Regions from separate parts of the Homo sapiens genome. Here region 2 is linked to region 1. Evidence: promoter capture Hi-C in 16 types of primary human blood cells and fetal thymus (Javierre and others, 2016). All regions are on one chromosome and are shown on one strand. Each heading gives the region's core, a stretch centred on a gene start or on the middle of the fragment in contact. The rest is flanking DNA. Distances are from core to core; before and after follow the strand shown.

Region 1 (5,192 bases), core at 1,418-3,917:
GACTAAAGAGGGAGAACTATTTTTATTCAATTTTTTTTTTTGGTTACAAATAATAGTGACTTAAGGACCATAACTAAATATAATTTCAAGGAGGGGCAACTCTTAGTGTCTCTTATAACCACTTCACACAGAATTTACTTTTACTGCTATGGTGATTTCTCTTTAGATTTCTTTCTGTATTTATTTACGCTTTTATTTTTTATGTATGGTGTATATATCTATGACTTTTTCTCTCTGATTTTATGAAACTGAAATTAAAGTGGAAATACTTCTATGCCCTGCTTTTTTCCATGTGCTATATATATATCATCCTAAAATTACACATGGAAAAAAATTTAAAAGGATTTTATTATGAAACATTTCAAACATATAGAAAATTTGAAAAAAAAAATTATGCCAGTACCTTAGACACACGATTTACATTCAAGAAGTATTAATATTTTGAAAAATTTAGTTATCTTTCATGTGGGGGTGGGGTGCATTTTAAAGTACATCAAAGACCAGATGCTTACTTGGACCTTTGTTTCAGGAAGTCCAGAGCTTACAGCATATTCTGGATAGCACTGGAGAGAAACCAACACGGGAGAGAAAGCAGCCAGCAGTTTTCTGGCACTCCCTTAGTTTGAAAAAATTTACATCACAAGAAAGCAAGCCTTCCTTTCACCTTTTAGGTGCAAACTGATAAACATAACCAGTAGGGCTACTATACTTCACAGAGCCTTGCTCCCAGTAGATACTCAAAACATGCAGTTGAACTGAATTTCAGTTGTTATTTTAAAGCCGTGCTTGAAAAGCGTATGTGACAAATGTACTTTCCTAATCTTCCTGAGAAGAGCAGTACTGTGTCTTACGGGCGAAAAAACCAGAGGAGCCAGGAGTGGAGGGTGCAATAAAACGCCTGCATTGGGGCAGATTGCCTCATTTTGAATCCCTGACTCCTCACTGTGCTTTGGGGAAAACTATGGAAATTTTCACTGCCTAGCTTATTAAAATGGACTGCTTAGCTGAAATATAGAGGCGTCCATGACAACTACCCGGAGGGCTTTGTTAATCATATTGCAGGACTCCACCCGCAGTTTCTGGTTCTGTAGGTCTAGGTGGGGCCGAAAACGTGCATTTCTAACAAATTCTAGGGTGATAGTGACGCGGCAGGTCCCGAGACAACAGGAAACCCAAGGGACTCGAGGCAGGCGCTCAATAAATATTCACTATGAACCTCAGCACCATCGAAGCGGCCCACCAGCAGGGGCCGCGGGGTATGCGCTGCAGGGAAGAGCACGGCCTCTGTCCAATGTCCCTGCCGGTACATCACTCCTCTGCAGGGACTAGGTTAGAACCGGGAGGCAGCCAGAGCAGCGCTCTCGCTGGATAACGGAAGAGGACTCCCTCGCCAACTTCCGCCTCTGGGGAAAAGCGGGGACCCTCCGCCACCTGAGTTCTGTTGTCTCGATTTCGCCGCAGTTTGCTTCTGGCCCGGGCGAGAACCTGTCCTCTGGGCAAGCCAGGGGTCGGTACAGGACTCCTATACCCCAAGGCGAGGCGGAGGCAGGTGCCGAGCGGTGGCCAGAGTCCGGCGCCCAAAGCCCGATGGGAGGGCGTGGCGGGGGAGGACGGTCCCGCCAGCTCCCAGGTCGGTTCCGAGCGCCCGCGGCCCGATGGCCGGGCGGAAGATGGCTGCCCGGAGCGCCGCGGACAGTCACGTGGTACGCCGGGCCCGTAGCCGCGCCCCTTCCCCCGCTCGCCAAGTCCCCGACCCCGCGGGAGGCACGGCCTCGGGCTGCCTGTAGGCCACCGAGGTGCGGCGCGGGCCGGCCAGGGACGGCGGGCATCGGGGCGGGAAGGCCAGCTCTCCCCGCTGTCCATCCTAACTTGGGCGCTGGGGCTTCGCTCGGGGAGCAGAGGAAAACCTTCCTTCAGGCGACTTGCACCACGTGGGGCTACTGGGCATGCGCGGGCTCCGACCCCGGCCTAGCCGCTCTCCGGGTTTTCGCCGCAGCTCGGAGGGGCGGCGGAAGGTGGGCCCCAGGCGGGGCGGGGCGGCTCTGACGCAGTCGGAGTTTTCACCTCGCGCGGTTAGAGCTCTTGCGCCTCCGTCGCGCTCCCAGGCGTCGCCAGAGGCTTTTTTTTTCTGTTGTGGGAGAAAGATGAGAGTCTATGGTTAGAGGTTTGAAAATGGGCCGAATAGTCAGGTCGGCCGTTTCCTAGGAATGATCCATTGGGCATTAATCCCAAGTGTCGCAGCCCTTGGGCTTGGTGGGAAAAAGAATCCAGTAGTAGTTCGCAAACTCGTGCCTGGCTTCCAGCAGGCTGAGTTTGCGTTCCCTGCTTTGTGACCAGCTCTAGCGGCTCCCGTCTCCGGCCCTGCCCCAAGGGATTTACCGTCCCAGATTGTAAAATCTGGCTCCCGCTAGGCCTTACTTAGTGGGCCCCTAAAAACGCTGGGGAAAGCGCCCGCCTCCTCAGTTTCCCATTACTTGAAAGTAAAATTCAAGGGGCCCAAACTGCGACTGTCCCTTGGTTCGGGGTCCCGCTCGGTCCCGGGAGGAGCCCCCCGCGGACCCCGCCCGGCCGGCCCGCCCCCCCGGCCGCAGTGAACACCCGGAGGAGCGGAGTCGCGTCGCGCGGGAAGCCGGGCCGGCTCGGGCAGCGGACTGGGCATGCTCGGCAGCCCGGGAGGCTCGCGGTGGCAAGTCGAAAGCGTTCGCACCAGCGGGGCAGCGGCTGCGGGCGGCAGGCGGCGGGCAGGTCGGGAGTGAGAAGGACCGGCCTGGGCTGACTGCTCTCCCCTCGCGCCTAGGGAGCCGGTCGGAGAGCGCGATTGGGGTGCGGAGCCCCGACGCTGCCCTGCCCCGGATTTCATTCCGCGGCGGGGGCTCCGCGAGCGGAATTCCGGCGGCTGCCGTGACTCCAGTGCAAGTGAGTCGTGGGGCAGGGACAGACAGCCGGCCTCACGGTTGCGGGGGCCGATCGGACACCTGTCTCGCGGGCCCGGCCTTATGCCGGGGAGCAGCGGGCGGGCTGCTCTGGGGCGAGGGGGCGTGAGCGCAGCCCGCGCGGTGCCGCGCGCGTACCTGGCGGGCAGTCCTCCAGAGCTGCTGCTCCCGTGGGTGGTCACAGCGGGGAGGTCCGGCGGCCGGGATCCGGGCTCGGAGGGGGCGGGCCGCCGGCGGGGCTCCCCGGCTAAGTTGGGGCGGGGAGGAAGGAGGAGGCGTCAGTGGGCACCTTTTCAGAGCTACTGCGTGCGGGCTGGAAGGCTGCCTGGTGTCGGATTGGGGCGATCGGGAGGCGGGGAGCCTTTGGGCAGTAGCCCGCCCGGGGTCCGGAGACCCCCACCCAGGGGCCGACTCCAATCACGGCTCCACCCCCACAGCCTAGGTGGCGGTGTGACAGTTGGTACCTTCGGTCCAGATCGCAGCCGGCCAGGCGCCCACTATTTCGGGATCCCCCCACCGTAGCCCCTCGATGCCCCCTGACGACAAAACAGGTGGGACCCCCCCTCCCCGAGGAGCGCTCCCCTTCTCTCCAGGCCGCGTAACAGCCCGCCAGGCTCGCGGGCGGCTCTGAGACCCCGCAGGGCTGCCCCCGCGGGGCGGGGACGTTTAGGGGCAAGGCCTGGAGGGGAATCGGCGCAGCCCAGAACTGGACAGTCTCTCCAGGACGCCGCTTTTCCGTGACAGAGGGGGTCTGCGCTATCCCCCAGCGACGTGTCAAGGGCAAAACAGCAGCAGCAGCGGCTGCCTCTCCCACCGTCTTAACCCGAACTCGGGCTTGTGGCGTCCTCCCGTGGGCCGGATAGAGTGCCCTAGTCCAGCTAACGGATTCAGCCTGGAGCGTTCTGGTGAATGCTGCTTTCCTCTTTGGTGCCGCGAAGTAGAAATCGGGATAAGGGTTGTCATGGCCGGAGGGAGCGAAGAGAATCCAGGCAGGTGCTTCTCAGATGTTTCTTTTCACCTTCAAACAGTACAGACTTCAGCGGTACACGCTTACGAAACCAAGTGAAGGCTGCTTTCTGAAAGGGAAGTTTATTTTCTATGTTCTGGGGCCTGTCGACTATTTTAGCTCCCTTGACATTTATCTTCCTGGACCTTTAAAGCTGTTTGGACAGGTTATTTTGCTTTTAGGTTTGGGGATGTTTCTAGTTGGCTCCCTGGATGTGGAAGTGGCGAATGTCTGATGTGCTGTGCTGTGAACTCCCCACGCTTCCTGGCACTGGGGGTTGAAACATTCAGGGGGGACTGAGTGGGCCGAAGGAGAGGAGTGGGACTGGTGACGTAGGAACGCGATGGGTGTTGCCTAGAGCTGCCCAGATGGAAAGGGGTTGGCGGCTGTTTTGGCCTGTGCAGAAGGGGAGAGGGCGGGGCGTTTCATTGGTCGGGGTGTGAAACGTCCACGGGCGAAGGCTGCGGGGGATGGGTGCCTGTCTGGTCAGTGCTCCAAGGGAAGCCCAGGGATGTTTGGTGATTCAGCAGGTGGCAGCCTTCCAGCTCTGAAGACATGCCGTGGCCAAGCAAAGAAGCAAGCAAGCAAGCAAGCAGCAGCCTGTGCCTGCTGTCGGAGGCGCCAGCTTTGGGGGAACCTCCAGGTGCTGCCTTCTGCCTGTGGCAGCTCACTTGTCTTATCTTGCTTCCTGTTTAGCTCTGGAGGCCCTGGTATTTCGAGTTTCCTTACTGCGCCTCTTAAAATATACAGCAATATATAGCATGTTTTTGAGTCTCTGCATCTCTGTGACCTGCTGGGTAGCAGTGGGGTGGCTGCTGCCGCCATGCAGTTTTAAGTAGTTACTCTGCAGAAAGTGACAGTGATATGTAAAAACAGTGAAGTGGCCTTTCCTTCCATTTCTGCTTCACAGAATAGAAATTTATGTTTTTAGTAAAATAATAAGATACATTTCTGCAACTCTTCAGTGATGATAGTGAGCTATTTGAAATTTCCGGAAACTTTTTAATAAAAGACATTAACTCCAGAGATGTATTAAATTGACATCAGAGGGACACGGTTATTAAACCAGTATCTTACTCATTGGAAGATTTCTAGCATCTTGCACAGTGTCTAACTTGTATTCAATACATGCCTCTGCAGCTGAAATTTTAAAAATTCTTCATAACAGAAGAGTTTACCAGTATTTACCATGTTCATCATCTATTTTTAAGTCTGTATTAATATGGTTAGAGTAAAATATATGCATCAATACC
Region 2 (5,289 bases), core at 2,030-4,529, 1.1 Mb after region 1:
TCCTGACCTTATGATCCGCCTGCCTCAGCCTCCCAAAGTGCTGGGATTACAGGCATGAGCCACCACACCCAGCTGAGAAACTCCTATAATTCTTGTATGACTTAGTGTATATTGTTAATAATTATAATTATGACAAGTCTTTGTATGCACAAAAGTAACCAAAATTCCTAGTCAATTGTGACTTTAATAGTGACTGTCCTAAGGTTTTTTGTCATCCACAGACAAGTGTTATCTTGTATTGTTCCTCTTCAAAAGGTGGTTTATAATCAACTATACGACTTTGACAGGTGCTCTTAAATGCAGGTTTCTGAATAACTTAGGAGATTGTGACATTAGAATAGAGGAAAAAACATTTAGGACTCTCATGGAGAGCTGAAATATTCATGACTATCAAGCAGAACAGGAGTCAACTGCATGGAGTAAACTAATAGAAGCCTGAAGTAATCTTTTTGACTTTTTTTCTTAAAGTGTTGCTGATCCTTTGTTTTGTTTTTCACAGTCAAGAAAACTTTTATTTACAACTTGTAGCAGCTGAGTATGCCTATAAACAAAATTTGAAGCATATTTCTCTCTACCTGATTTCTCCAGAATTTGGAAACTATTTGTGAGTATTCTTATGGCAATATAGTTATTTACATAAGTGCAGTAAGAATCTGTTTTCTTTTACAACAGGACACAGTTGGAGGAACTGATTATTTTACCAAGCCTTTGACTGGAATGGCATGCTTTCAAATATAAACAAACTGCTTCAAGGAATCAAACTTGACTTATAGAGACAATAAAAGCCCCTTGGGAAAACTGGCCTCATACCTTGTCTACACAGTCCTTGTACAGGGTTCTTGGTCTGTAATAAGTAAAGAATGCAACTTTCTGAGAGGCCCAGGAGCACCAATATCTTGGGACCTCAGGAGGAGAGGAATTTACCCAACTTACAGGTATTTGATGGCAGCAACCCATGGCTGGGCTCAGTTTTAAAAAAAGTCTTATTTAAAATTCCTTATAGAACAAAGATCCATCAAATCCAATTACAAAAAAAAAACCCATGTGAAAAATAATTATTCTTGCTGCCCTTTTTACGAAGAATCAGGCCAAGTATAAAACTAAATTTATTTAGTTGGAAGCAAATCAGTCTTACCATGATTTGTCTTTAATAAAAGTGGGAGCCTGAAGAGAGAAAAAAGTTATGTTTCAACTATGGTACACCTGTTATTAGATTCTAGTCTCATCAGTTATTTTTAAGGGTTTTTTCTTCCTTGCAATTTAGACTAACCCTACTTTTTCCTGCCAACTAACCAGTGATCTCTGGCTGCTGCTCAGAAAAAAAATAACAGAAATGGGTAATGTAAAAATCTGGATCAATATTCTAATTCTAATTGGAACATATAGCATGTACAGCAACTTCATATCAGCTTGCCCAGTTCCAGCTGTTGCCGAGTTCATGGAAAGCCTTCTAATTTAGTTTACTTGGGATAGTTTTACTTATTTTGCTTTACCGTTGTGGAACATATTGCTGTTGTACTCCGTGTGGGAGTGCAGGATAAGCTTACTCAATGTTTAATTAAATTGAATACTTTTTAATCTTCCAGATATCACCTTTTGCCCTCAAGAGTTATGAATGTCCCTCACCATAGTGATGCCTTCTGACTGAGCTCCTCACTACCCTGAATACAAGAGACCATAATAGTTAGGTAGGAGTAGCATAGCCCTTATTCAGCTTGAAGAAGTTACAGAAGATGGATCTTTGTCCCTCTACTACCCTTTGGATTAGGCGTTCCCTTGTAAAAGGGAAGGGAGAAATATGTCAGAGGCATTTGAACCAGAGTGATTCCATCTTGAATTGGGGCTGGGTGAAATAAGGCTGAGACCTACTGAGCTGTATTCCCAAGAGGGCAGGCATTCTAAGTCACAGGATGAGGTAGGAGGTTGGCACAAGATACAGGTGACAAAGACCTTGCTGATTAAACAGTTTGCGGTAAAGAAGCTGGCCAAAACCCACGAAAACCAAGATGGCAATGAAAGTGATGTCTGGTCATCCTCACTCTTCCTTATATGCTAATTATAATGCATTAGCATGCTAAGAGACACTCCTATCAGCACATGACAGCTTACAAATGCCATGGCAATATCAGAAAGTTACCCTATATGGTTTAAAAATGGGAAGAACCCTCAGTTCTGGGAATTACCCACCCCTTTCCTAGAAAACTCAGGAATAATCTACCCCTTCTTTAGCATATAATCAAGAAATAACTATAAGTATTCTCATCAAGCAGCCCAAGTTGCTGTTCTGCCTATGGAGTAGCCATTCTTTATTCCTTTACTCTCCTAATAAACTTGCTTTCACTTTACTCTATGGACTTGCCCCGAATTCTTTCTTACTCAAGGTCTAAGAACTCTCTCGGCATCTGGATCGGGAATCCTTCCTGGTAACAGTTCACAATGGATGGTTTTATACATTCATTGCTTTTAAGCTTGCTGATTCATTTATTCAACATACATTTAACATGTTTTTCTAGTGGTTGCCAACACAGTTCTAAATAATATGCTTTTGCTTCTTTTTTGATTTATAATTTTTACAAAGTATTTATTGTGTTTCCAATACATCTAATTATTTTTCATGAGTTTTCCCCATTTATAAGGATCAGAGAACCAAACCGGTTTTGTTGCACTGCCGTTACCCAGAAGTTTTGAAAAGTGAGAGTCAACTCAGACCTCTGTTCTGTAGGTCATTGGGAGAATTCCTTATATTGAACACGAAATGTGAAATAAAGGCGCAAGGATGAATATCGTCATAGTTAAACAAGTTAACATTAGTAAAGCACTCAAGACAATGAAACCACCTTTGCAAAAATTATATCAGTTAGAAAATTATGACAGTGAAAGAGGTCTGAGTTAACGCCCCCATTCCAACACCTATCTTGCCTTTCCCTTAATTATTTCTAAGCTACTGGGGCCAGCTAACTTTGAGAGACATTTAGGCTATAGTTTACATGATAACAGACCTTGCCTGAAACTCAACTGTTTTTGTAAAGCTAATGGGAAGCTATCAGGCTGTGGGGGAGGAGAGGAGCCTGAGTCCTGCTAAGGCGCAGATATGAACGATTGTCAGTCATTATTCTGGAGGTTATAAGATACTCAACTTTCCCAATTACTCCTGCAAATAACACCACTGATATGGTTTGGCTGTGTCCCCACCCAAATCTCATCCTGAATTGTAGTTTCCATAATCCCTACATGTTGTGGGAGGAAGCCGGTGGGAGATAACTGAATCGTGAGGGTGGTTACCTCCATGCTGTTCTGATAGTGAGTTCTCACGAGATCTGATGGTTTTATAAGGGGCTTTCCCCCTCCTTCACTCTGCACTTCTCCTTGCTGCCACCATGTGAAGTAGGACATGTTTGCTCCCCCTGTCACCATGATTGTAAGTTTCCAGAGGCCTCCCCAGCCATGCTTAACTGTGAGTCAATTAAACCTCTTTCCTTTATAAATTACCCAGTCTTGGGTATGTCTTTATTAGCAGCACGAGAGCAGACTAATACAACCACTATTTGTAGCTTTTTGAGATATCTTTCCAGGTTTTTTGCATGTCTGACACCCATGGCTCCACCTGGACCGCCAACCCCACTCCCACAGCCCCACCCAGAAGTGATTCAGACTGCAGGAGGACAGCTTTGACTCCCCCTATGATTTCATCTCAGCCTCAACCAATCAGCAGCAAGCACCTGTTACCTGGCCACTCCCACCCCTTCCTCCAAACTGCGTTTGAAAAACCCCCAGCCTATGAGCTTCGGACTTTGGATCAGATGACCTGAGCATGCACTCCATCTCCCACCTGGCATGGTCGGCCTCGTGTCTATTAAGCTCTTTTTCTACCACAATGCTATGGTCTTTCTTTATGCAGTGGGCAGGAAGAACCCCTTGGGTGGGGTGTTTAAAATAATGCCCAGCTTAGAGTAAGGGCTAGGAAATGGTAGGGAAAATGGATTAAAATCCAAATCAATAACTACTATAATAATGACATTAGAAATATTGGTTTGGGGGTACACAGGAGATGCAAGAGCCTATTGCTGTCAGAGGGTAGGGGAAAGCTTCAGAAAAGAGAAACTTTGTCTGAGTTTGGAATGGGTAAGAGAATTCTAAGCAGAGGGACCTGCTTGTAAGATCACAGAAGTGACAGAATAACAAGTAGGGGTATGTGGGAAAAGATTAATAATTGCCTCTCCCCCAAAGTTCCAGTTTATAGTTTGTCCATTTCTGTGGTATAAATACTCCTACTATGGCTGATTTCAAGCTATTAATGTGAAGTCAACAAAGGCAGAGTTGGTGCTATGGGCTAAACTGGGTGCCCCCCAAATTCATATGCTGAATCCCTAACCCTCAATGTGACTATTTGGAGACAGGGTCTTTAGGCAGCAAATCTGGTTAAATGAGATCATAAGGGTGAGTCCCTAATCCAATACGGCTGATGCCTTAGAAGAAAGGGAAGACAGAGCCCTCTCTCTACCCCATGTAAGGACACAGTGAGAAGGTAACCATTTGCAAGCCATGAGGAGAGCTTCCCCTAAATGAGCTAAATCTGCCTGCATTTGATCTTGGACTTCCCAGCCTCCAGAACTATGAGAAACAAATGCCTGTTGTTTAAGCTGCCCAGTCTATGGCATTTGTTATGGCAGCCTGAGCTAAGGCAGCTGGGAAGAGGTGAACAGTATGCTTGCTAGGCCGTAGAAGCCAATTGTAGCACACCCTTCCTGGGAGAAGAGTAAGTAGTTCCCTAAATCCTGAGCATAGGCATCCAGGGAGTGAAGGACACAAGTGATGCAGAAAAATTAGATGGGGCAGGAGTATAAAAGGGCTTGGACGACTTGCTAAATAACTTGGGACCTCATTTAACTAAATTCCCTCATTAAAGACCCTATCTTCAAATACAGTCACATTCTGAGGTCCCGGGGTGGGGGTGGGGAGTGGCGGTTAGGACTCCAGCATATGAATTTTGGGGAGGGGACACAATTCGGCCCTTAATAGCTCCAGTTGTGCCACCCTGAGTTGTTTTCCTGAACCCCGCCCACGTCTTTGTAAATAATAACTCTCAACTTCCCCTTTTGAGTGGACCATTTTTTCCTGTCCAAATTCTGATATAGGAAGGGTCTCCAAAATAGCTGCAAAGGGAACCTCAGTCTCAAAAGTTGGGATCCACTATATATCTGCTTTTACTTTCAAGCATTGAAACTAATGTCAATCAACTGCCTTTCTATTCTTAATATTTTATCCAAGAAATCGCTAGAATTCTTTCTC

Evidence for each region. The method cuts DNA at HindIII sites, captures the fragments that hold promoters and counts their contacts. A CHiCAGO score of 5 or more calls a contact.
Region 2: a contact is called between a fragment that was not itself captured here and the fragment with the promoter of SGMS1 in region 1, in 1 of 17 cell types (naive CD8 T cells). The highest score is 5.0, in naive CD8 T cells.

The regions. Positions count from the first base shown.
Region 1 is chr10:50,621,431-50,626,622 of GRCh38, reverse strand. SGMS1 (sphingomyelin synthase 1) reads left to right here and starts at 2,667. Exons shown (of 11, transcript NM_147156.4): 1 at 2,667-2,916. It overlaps SGMS1-AS1 (SGMS1 antisense RNA 1), which reads right to left and starts at 1,672. Exons shown (of 4, transcript NR_126411.1): 1 at 1,432-1,672. RefSeq lists silencers at 1,500-2,129, 2,254-2,411, 2,460-2,719, 2,980-3,319 and enhancers at 2,270-2,798, 3,510-3,909, 4,460-4,619. The HindIII fragment of the contact is 12,791 bases long and covers 1-5,192 here.
Region 2 is chr10:49,540,367-49,545,655 of GRCh38, reverse strand. No RefSeq gene overlaps it. Among named protein-coding and RNA genes, the nearest start is that of ERCC6, 3.9 kb to the right of the region's middle. The HindIII fragment of the contact is 1,617 bases long and covers 2,471-4,087 here.